3 separate regions of the Homo sapiens genome follow, and regions 1 and 3 are each linked to region 2. The links are contacts of gene promoters, found by promoter capture Hi-C in blood cells and fetal thymus (Javierre and others, 2016). All regions are on one chromosome and are shown on one strand. The core of a region is centred on a gene start or on the middle of the fragment in contact, and the rest is flanking DNA. Distances in the headings are between cores, read along the strand shown.

What was found. The method cuts DNA at HindIII sites, captures the fragments that hold promoters and counts their contacts. A CHiCAGO score of 5 or more calls a contact.
Region 1: a contact is called between a fragment that was not itself captured here and the fragment with the promoter of HHIPL1 in region 2, in 1 of 17 cell types (endothelial precursors). The highest score is 8.5, in endothelial precursors.
Region 3: a fragment that was not itself captured here is called in contact with the fragment with the promoter of HHIPL1 in region 2 in 2 of 17 cell types (endothelial precursors and erythroblasts); the score reaches 6.0 in endothelial precursors.

The regions. Positions count from the first base shown.
Region 1 is chr14:99,915,762-99,918,546 of GRCh38, reverse strand. EML1 (EMAP like 1) reads right to left here. Exons shown (of 22, transcript NM_004434.3): 16 at 698-765. Among named protein-coding and RNA genes, the nearest start is that of EML1, 120 kb to the right of the region's middle. The HindIII fragment of the contact is 1,580 bases long and covers 665-2,244 here.
Region 2 is chr14:99,643,841-99,646,835 of GRCh38, reverse strand. It overlaps HHIPL1 (HHIP like 1), which reads right to left and starts at 1,707. Exons shown (of 9, transcript NM_001127258.3): 1 at 1,374-1,707. The coding sequence starts at 1,628. The HindIII fragment of the contact is 13,444 bases long and covers 1-2,995 here.
Region 3 is chr14:99,938,201-99,941,257 of GRCh38, reverse strand. It overlaps EML1 (EMAP like 1), which reads right to left. Exons shown (of 22, transcript NM_004434.3): 21 at 1,931-2,061; 22 at 1-1,271. The coding sequence ends at 1,146. Among named protein-coding and RNA genes, the nearest start is that of EVL, 130 kb to the left of the region's middle. RefSeq lists an enhancer at 1,001-2,200. The HindIII fragment of the contact is 1,007 bases long and covers 1,299-2,305 here.

The DNA.
Region 1 (2,785 bases), core at 205-2,704, 270 kb before region 2:
TGTGACCAGGAGTAGAAAAAGCATTTTTAAATGCTCAGCACTTTGAAATGTTTTCTTGCTTCATTCCAAAATCAAGGCTTCTCCCACAGCCTCAAGATCAGGGCTTGAGAAGCTCCACAAATCCTCGAGATTGTAGGCAAAATGTGTGTGTGGCTGGGTGTGGTGCCTCATGCCTGTGATCTCAGCACTTTGGGAGACCGAGGTGGGAGGACTGCTTGAGCTAGAGCTCAAGACCAGCCTGGGCAACACAGTGAGACCTGCGTCTCTACAAAAGATAAAATATTAGTTGAGCATGGCAGTGCATGCCTGTAGTCCCAGCTACTTGGGAGGCTGAGGTGGGAGGATCACTTAAGCCCTGGAGGCTGCAGTAAGCTGTGATTGTGCCACTGCACTTCAGTCTGGGTGACAAGGAGAGACCTGTCTCAAAAAACAAACAAAAAAAGTGTGTGTGTGTCTAGTGGAGGTAGAGGGTCCTTTTCCAGGAGAGAGGGTCTATGGCTTTCCTCAGATTCCCCAAGGCTCAAAATGTAATGGGCCACTGTTTCAAGTTTCGCTTTTAACTTAATTCTTGGTAAGTCATTAGAAGCTTCGAACATGTAGCCAAGAGCTGAACGGGGGCCTGTTCCTGGGGAAATAGAAACAACAGGCCTCTTTTCCATAAGCTTTGCAAGCACAAGCGCTGTTGGCATGGACTTACCTCCCAGTGAGTGTTCCGACTGCAACCACAGACCCTGAAGGATGAAAACCAGAAGACTGAGCTGGATCCTAAAATATTTTAAAGGAAGTGTAAATTGATGAACAGATAGAACACTATAGCATAAAACACACACACGTGAGTGCGTGCACACACAAACGCTCACACTTCTAATTCCTTAGGGCTATATGGCTCTATTTGAAAAGTCTCTTTTCTAGAGAAAAATGTTTTCCTGCTTGAATGAATGCTGCGTTTCAATAATGCTAAATTTCTACCTACCCCCACCCTTTTTTGAGGCAGGATCTCACTCTATTGCACAGGCTGGAGTACAATGGCATGATCATGACTTATTGCAGCACAAGTGACACTCCTGGCTCAGCCTCTGAAGCAGCTGGGACTACAGGTGTGTGTCACCACACCTGGCTAATTTTTTAATTTTTAATTTTGTAGAGATGGAGTCTCCCTATGCTGCCCAGGCTGGTCTCGAATTCCTGGGCTCAAGTGATCCTCCTGTCTCTGCCTCCCAAAGTGCTGGGATTATAGGTGTAAGCCATTGAGCCTGACTTAAATTTCTGTCCTTTTAGGATTTTTCCCTTTTTGTCTTACATCCTCTCATTTCTACAGTAATCTGATGAAAGACAGGTAAATGCCCTTCTACAAAGTCACAGCTTATAGAACCCAGCCCCTTCAGTTGACTCCCCGTGCTGAGTGGTAAGCTCACTGAATAGTGTGCTTGATTGCTCCAGAAAGACAACCACGGCACCCAACTCCATGACACGGAGACTGGGTGAGTGCCCACTGGGTGCAAAACACTATGGAGGCCTGGAAGGATCATGAGATGAGCAAGGCATGTTCTAGGTTTTGATCCAGTGGAACACACACACAGTCATCACTAACTCGGATACAAGATGGAATGATCCATGAAAGAGATCCATGAAAGAGATACACAGGGGAGGGAGGGATGAGGTGACACTGGGAAGCTGGGCCAAGGCTTCGCGGTACAGACGACTGGACTTGGGCCTCCCAGGAGAGGAAGAATTATCACTGGTGAAGGTGAGATGTGGCCACTCCAGTCGTTTTTTGGACCATGGTGAAGGGGGCAGTAATATAGTAAAAGTGATGGAAGCAACACAGCTGTGGGCATATTTGAGGAGTGGCAGATAGGTCAATGGGCTTACAGCACAGAGTATATCACATTAGTGATGTCACTGCCATGGTAAGGACTTTGATCACTAGGAAATAAGAACACTTTGAATGGTCTTGTCCTTTCAATAAAAAGAGTGACATGATTGAACATGTGTTTTAGATAAAGGGCACTTTGCAGGAGTGTTTAGGATGAAGAGAGAAGAGATTAAGGAAGATCAGGAAGAAAAGTAGCAATGGGAATGAAAATAGGAGGCCCTGAGATCCACTGGATAATCTAAAAAACCAAGAGAAAGAAACTTGATATATGATTACATTATTTCAATGCTTTCTTTCTACAGTGGGAGCTGTAATTAAGCTCAGAGCTGCCACTAATACACAAACAGAAATCGTGTTCACTTGAAGCTTTACCATTTACAAAGCACTTCTGTCTGTGTCATTCATCTAAGCCTCGTAACAATTTTGAGAAGTGGACACTGAGTTACAGATGTCCAAGGTCACAAGGCCAGTAGGCAGAGGAGCTAGAACTTCATTGCAGTTCCCTGGCTTCCAGCTTAGAGCTCCAACCCTTATGTTAGGCTAAATGATTAACAGCCTGGTAAAGGAGCTGTCATTGCCTTCAGCCCTCCTGGACCACCAGGGCATAGGTAGAACATATAACACTGTTCCCTTTAGCCCTTTCCTGCCATCACGGGCCACACCTGCTCTCTGAGTGGCAGTGCCTGCCCCTTGGGCCCTTCCACCTCACGGCTCAGCTGGCCACCAGTGACCAGCACCCCTTCCGTGAAAATGAAGGGAAGGGAGCCAAAACTTGAACCTAGCACCTGGGACATGCCAGTAACTCTATGGGGGATGAAAGGATGATGTGTTGGTTTACAGAAGGGCTATTTCCTCTGTGCAATGGGATTGCACAGATCATTAGGGCACCGGCAACAGAGAATGAGCTTC
Region 2 (2,995 bases), core at 458-2,957:
TATCATATCATATCATATCATATCATATCATATCATATCATATTATATTATATTATATTTTTGAGACGGAGTCTTGCTCTGTTGCCCAGGCTGGGGTGCAGTGGCTCAATCTTGGCTCACTGCAACCTCTGCCTCCCAGAGTCAAGTGCTTCTCCTGCCTCAGCCTCCCGAGTAGCTGGGATTACAGGAGCTCCCCAACATGCCCAGTTAATTTTTGTATTTTTGTAGAGATGGAGTTTCGCCATGTTGGCCAGGCTGGTCTCGAACTCCTGACCTCAAGTGATCTGCCCACCTTGGCCTCCCAAAGTGCTGGGATTACAGGCATAAGCCACCATACTCAGCTTCATTTTAAAGATATTGTGAGGTGCAGCAGTGACCTGCCCAGGTCACGAAGCTGGGGAAGTGACAGAGCCAGGATCAAACTCCAACTCCAAGTCAGCCTTCTTGCCCTTCCCCACACCACCTGCCCCTGCTGGCCGAAGGCTGGGACACGGCCCTGGCCCCTGGGGCCTCTCCACCCCAGGCCTCTCACTGCCCAGATGCTGAGGCAGGAATGCCTTGGGGCTGCCCGTCCTGCTCCATTTCTGCATTCAGCCAGGCAACATTTGCCCACTTGGGTGTGGTCAGGCCCTGGGGCCTCAGACTCCCACAAGAGGAAAACAAATAGCGGTGGCACCACCAGGTGTGCACAGAAGCAGGGGCTCCACCCTCAGAGGGAAGATGGGGGGCCCAGGGGCTTCAACAAAGAGCTGTCGCTCAGTCTTGAGAGAGCTTCTGCAGGCCAGGGCGCCATCCCCAGGAGAGGGCACAGCACCCACAGAGGTGGTGGCGGAAGTGGCAAGGGCATCAGGATGGGGGTGAGACGCTCGTGGGGGACAGTGGCCCCAACCCCCTCAACAAACCCGGGCCACACGTTGACCACGCCCACGCCAGGGCCCCCTGCTTTCACTGCCCCGGGGACAACACAAAGGAGCACTGACCGGGACAGATGCCTCTCCACCTTGGTACCCCGACAAGGGTGCAGCTGCTCGGGGTGGGACGCTGAGGGGTCGACTCCAGGGGACTGGGGCAGAAGAGCCCCCAACCTCTGAGGAAATGATGACATCATCTGTCCGTCCGTCCGTCCTTCCTGCTTCAGGAGGGGAAACTGAGGCCCCGAGAAGGCCCAAGTCACAAAACTAATGAATGGCAAAGCCAAGAGTCGTCCTGGGATGCGCGGTCTCCCCGCCCCGTGCCAAATGACTCCCTGTTGGGGCTTAGAGTTCCCGAGTCCGCCGCCCACTCTTGGCCCTCGCCCCCGCGGGGTTCCGATCTCTGCTCCAGGACTCGGCCTCCCGCGCCCCGCCCCGCCCGGTGGCCGCGCGCCCGCTCACCTGGCACAGCAGGTCCCTCGCGTAGCCGGCGCACGCGGCCCACTCGGCGGCGTCCACGCGGCTCGCCAGGGCCCAGAAGCGGCGGGTCAGCTCGGCGTCGCGCCCCTCATCGCAGCAGCCGAAGTCCGAGTACTGCGCGCAGAGGCGCAGCGGCTGCGTCGGCCGGAAGGGCGGCCTGAAGTCCAGGCACTGCGGATGCGCGGCGGCCCCGAGCACCCAAAGCGCCAGCAGCGCCCCGGCCCTGGCCCGGGCCATCGCTACGCCCCGCGGGGGAAGAGGCGGAGGGACGGCAGCCCCGGTCCCCTCCCGGGGCGCTCGCGGCGGCAGGGAAGGGGCGGGCGCTCCCCTTCCCTACACGCAGGGCCTCGAGTTTGGGGACCTCCCCTTCTAGGAGGTCACCTCTGGTCGGGGACACTCGGCGGGACTGAAGGAAGAGGGACGCGGCGCAGAATGCGGCACGACCTCTTTTAACCGCTTTCCAAATTCGATGGGAGTGGCCCGGTCTGTTTAAAGCCCCGGTGTGTTTTCCCGGTTCCGCCTGGGGCCCTGCTTCCTCCCCACAGGGCGCTCTTTAGCCAGGGAGGCGCAGGGCCAGAGGCCTGGACTCCTGGGCTTCGGTTCCACCTCCCACTGGGCTAGGGAAACGGATGCCCGCAGCCCGTCCCCGAAAGCTCCCACGTAACATTTTAAAAATGGGGGTGCGAGGGAAAGAACAGGGGGTGTTGCCCCAGGACTCTCAGGGAGAAGTGAAACCTGGCGTAGGGGTGGGGAGGGAGGACGGAGCAGTCTCCGCAGTCCACCCTTTGCCCTTACTGTGGGCTTCTTCCCAGTCTCTGCTCCTGGGGCAGCGGATTCTCCTGCAGCCCAGGACCCACTGGGGCTCCCCACTTCCACTCTCGCATAGGGAGCACTGATGAATCTACCTCCTGGGATGGGCATCCAGCCCTTTGTTCCGCTGCCCCCGCTGGAGATTCAGACCCAACCCCGCCCCACCCCCCCACACACATACAGACGCACACACGCTGTCTTACCTACCCCAGAATCTCATGGCACCAAAACCACCCACACAGACAAACACACACACACTGTCTCACCTACCCTAGAATCTCACAGCACCAAAACCACCCAGGCATTTTTCTCAAGTGGACCTCAGCGTTTGCTTCTCCCTGGAGTGTCCTTCCCCATCTTCTCTGTCCAGTGAGCTCCTACTCCATCTTCATGGCCCCAACGCACACATCCGTCCTCTGCAGGTCTCTTTGGACTGTCCTGGGGGATCATGTTTCTGTCTTTGGGCCCATGCTCCTGGCAGAGCTGGGGGTGGATGAGATGCGGCAGGGCTGGAGCACTCAGAGGTCTGTGGCTCTGGCCTGAACAGGTGCAGTGTAAGAGTCAGGGTCTCCGCACAGCCAAACATCTCTGAGTATTTGAAACACGGGGAATTTAACGCAGGGACTTGAAGCCAAAGAGGCTAAGAAGCCATACAGGGCTCAGTGAAGTAACCTTGAGATCAGCAACAGTAGGAACAGTCCCCAGGTCCTTGATGCAGGAAGAGCAGATGTTACTGGAGCCAAGGAGCTATGGTCACCTTGTCAAAGCTGGACCCTCACAAGGCCTGTCTGGCC
Region 3 (3,057 bases), core at 553-3,052, 290 kb before region 2:
ATACATTCCCCAATGTAAACAATAAATTTCAATCTGTCACACAATCGAAATGGATAAGGCCTTCTTGACAAATTTCTGCCACCTCCGTTTAACGCATCAGAACTCAATCTTATCTCATACTGTAATGGGTCGCCCATGCACAAAAGACAGGAAAAGCAGCTGCCCTTGGTACCTGGTGGAGCCTTTCGAGACTTCTCTCTGCAGGTTTATGGTACGCTCGAGAGAGATCTTTCTGACTTGGTCTACTTGGTCATAAAATACAAATATACAATGTCCATAAGCATAAGACAGTAAAGCCTAGTCTTACATATTTATTATGAATTGCTAGAATCCTATACAAGTACAATATCATCTCATGCCAAGTAATATACACAAGAAGGTGGCAAAATGTCTCACCGTGAATCAGGGCGTGTGAACAAGGGATGGGGGATGCAAGCCAGGTGGGTGTGAAGAGGCTGACCGCATCTGGTTAGGCAGGACGGTGTCACTGAAACTTGGAAACGCCTGTGTACCCTGCTGAAATATTGAAGTCAGTTAGGAGTAGAGTCTGCTTAGCACAAGAGGGATACAAGCCCTCTCTCACAGCCTCCCCAAGGGAGAATGCAATGAAACTTTGGAAAATGTAACCAAACACAGTCTCATCTTTGTGTCTCCTGATTCAGCTGTGCAAATCAGTTATTCACTCTTCTGAAGTGATCTGTCCTTTTAGGACCAATTCCTCAACAGCCATCGTGGTTCAGTACCTCATTATCATCATAAATATTTGACTTAGCAAGCTAGATGGTGAAACAGTGAAGATTATATACAATGTTTTAAAAGGCATTCTGTGACCATTTTTGAAGAGTTCATAGAAAAGTTACTAAGAATATACCAGTTACTTCTGTTGATGTGGCTATAATGTAAACGTTGCAACCTTGTTGGTATTCAATGTGCACTGTGTCATATATTGTACAACAAAAGTGAACACGGAACCGCTGATCCGCTGTGGCGCCCGCTGACACGCTAAGCTAAGGTAGCCGGCGGAGGGCACAGTTTTCCTGAGGTTTGTAAGAATTTTTTAAACAAAACAGAAATCACAGTGACCAAGGGTAATGCGAGTCTGTGTCTTCCTTGCCCATGCTGCTCCCCACAGCTCTCGGTGGGTACTAAATGACGCGCCACTGCATGATGCTTGTGTCTTTCCCGCCCGTGGAGATGAGGTGGCTGTCTTCACAGAGGAAATCGACATTGGTGACATGGCTGCTGTGCCCGCCGTAGATGTGGCTTGGAGCCTGGAGGGAATGATACGGGGGAAAGCTTCCTTTACTACAAGGCGAACCATCTGGGATGGGAAAGTGCTTGAATTCTCACTGCATGCCTTAATTCCTTTACTCGCCCTCCGCTCGGCAGCTCTCACTTGGGAACCTGCTCTGTGTGTGACACAGAAGGGACACAGAAACAAAGCCCACAGTCCTCGTGGCCTGGTAGGGGACAGACACGAGCAAATGACCGCCCTCAGCCGAGAGATATGCTCAGTATCAGAGGTGCCAGGTATGAGGTCGCCCCAAAGGTGGGCCTAACCAGATGCCCGGGGCTGAGGGTGAGGGGTCTCCAGGGTCAGGATCACGGAGGATGAAGAAGGGCGTCCCAGGGCTCAGGGCTGGCGCGGCTGAGCAGGGCCGGAGCAAGGGAGCCGTGGGGGAGGGCGGGGTCGTGAGCCTGTGGGGCTGCAGAGGTGGATGAGCAGCTCTGAACGGCTTTGTGGGTCCTGTGGGGCTTGGGGTTTCCCTAAGGGCGGCTGGAAGTGCTCAGGGCGCAAAGAACAGAGTCACATCTGCCTTTGTGGCTGGCAGCAGTCGCTCACAGCCCATTTCCACTTAGTCTCCAAACAGGTCGGGTGTACGTGCATGCCCCATGGGGGATAAGATTAGTGAAGAAACAAGTCCTTTACCCTGAACTGCGAGCAGGGGTATGAGAAGAGGTGCACTTTGCCAAAGTCGTCGCCTGTTGACAGGAGTTTCTTCTCATGGGCCCGACAGACGGCATTGATGTCGGTTCCGTCCGAGCCTTCTGGCCACACTCCTAAAACAAAGACCACAAACAGGGCGCTGGAAACACCAGGGGCCACAGGGCCACATGGCGCAGGAAGCGCCCACTGAACGGTCCTGAACATGAAACTGCCTGAAGTCCAGCTTTAGAAACAAGGGTCAAAAAAGCACAATAGCCTCAGTTCCTGGCCTCTCGCTGTGCGCCCAGTCTCCTCTCACTCAGGCCAGTCTCGGAGACCCTCTGATGCTCTGCTGTGCAAGGGGAGCAAAGACAAGCTTTCCGGGCTGCCAGGTCTTTTGAGGCCTCATCTTGAGGCCAAGGCAGACAGTACCAGGAACCCCAGTTCCAAAGTGACACCTCTCCTTGATCTCTGAAGCATCTTGTGGGAAGCTGCCCTGTCCTCAAGCCTGCAGTTTCCTTGTTATTGCTGTAACTCTACATGGGTGGGTCTCTCCAAAGGCCTTTTAACCCTGGGTGTGCGCATGTTTCTTGGGGTCACTCACTGTGGCTGTTGCTTGCTTGGGGCAGCCTGGCAGCTGTGCCCATCATTACTGGCTCCAGGCTCTGCATCCCTGAGCCCAGGTGGGCCTGGAGAATGGGTGGGTGGGGGACACCCTCTTCTGACCATTGTCGGGTGAGCCCAGGTGGGCCTGGAGAATGGGTGGGTGGGGGACGCCCTCTTCTGACCATTGTCGGGGAAACCCTTTCAACAATACCTGTGGCTAGGAGAGGGCTGGATGCACGTTGGGTTTTCGACTGGGAGCTCTGGAGTGAACCTCCGGACCTCAGCACTGAACACCACAAAACTGCAAATTCTCACAAGACTTGTAGTCTTACGTAAAGAGACAATAAACACTATCTTTAAAAATTCTATTAATTTGCAGCCCTTTAATTTAGTTCACTTATGAAAATATTCCTAAAGTGAATGTTGAAGAAAGTGAAATTTTTAGTTTAAGAACAAAAAATATATAAATAATAACCCTCACAAATGGTAAGTTGACTGAGTGCCATCTGGTCCACCTAGGTCCA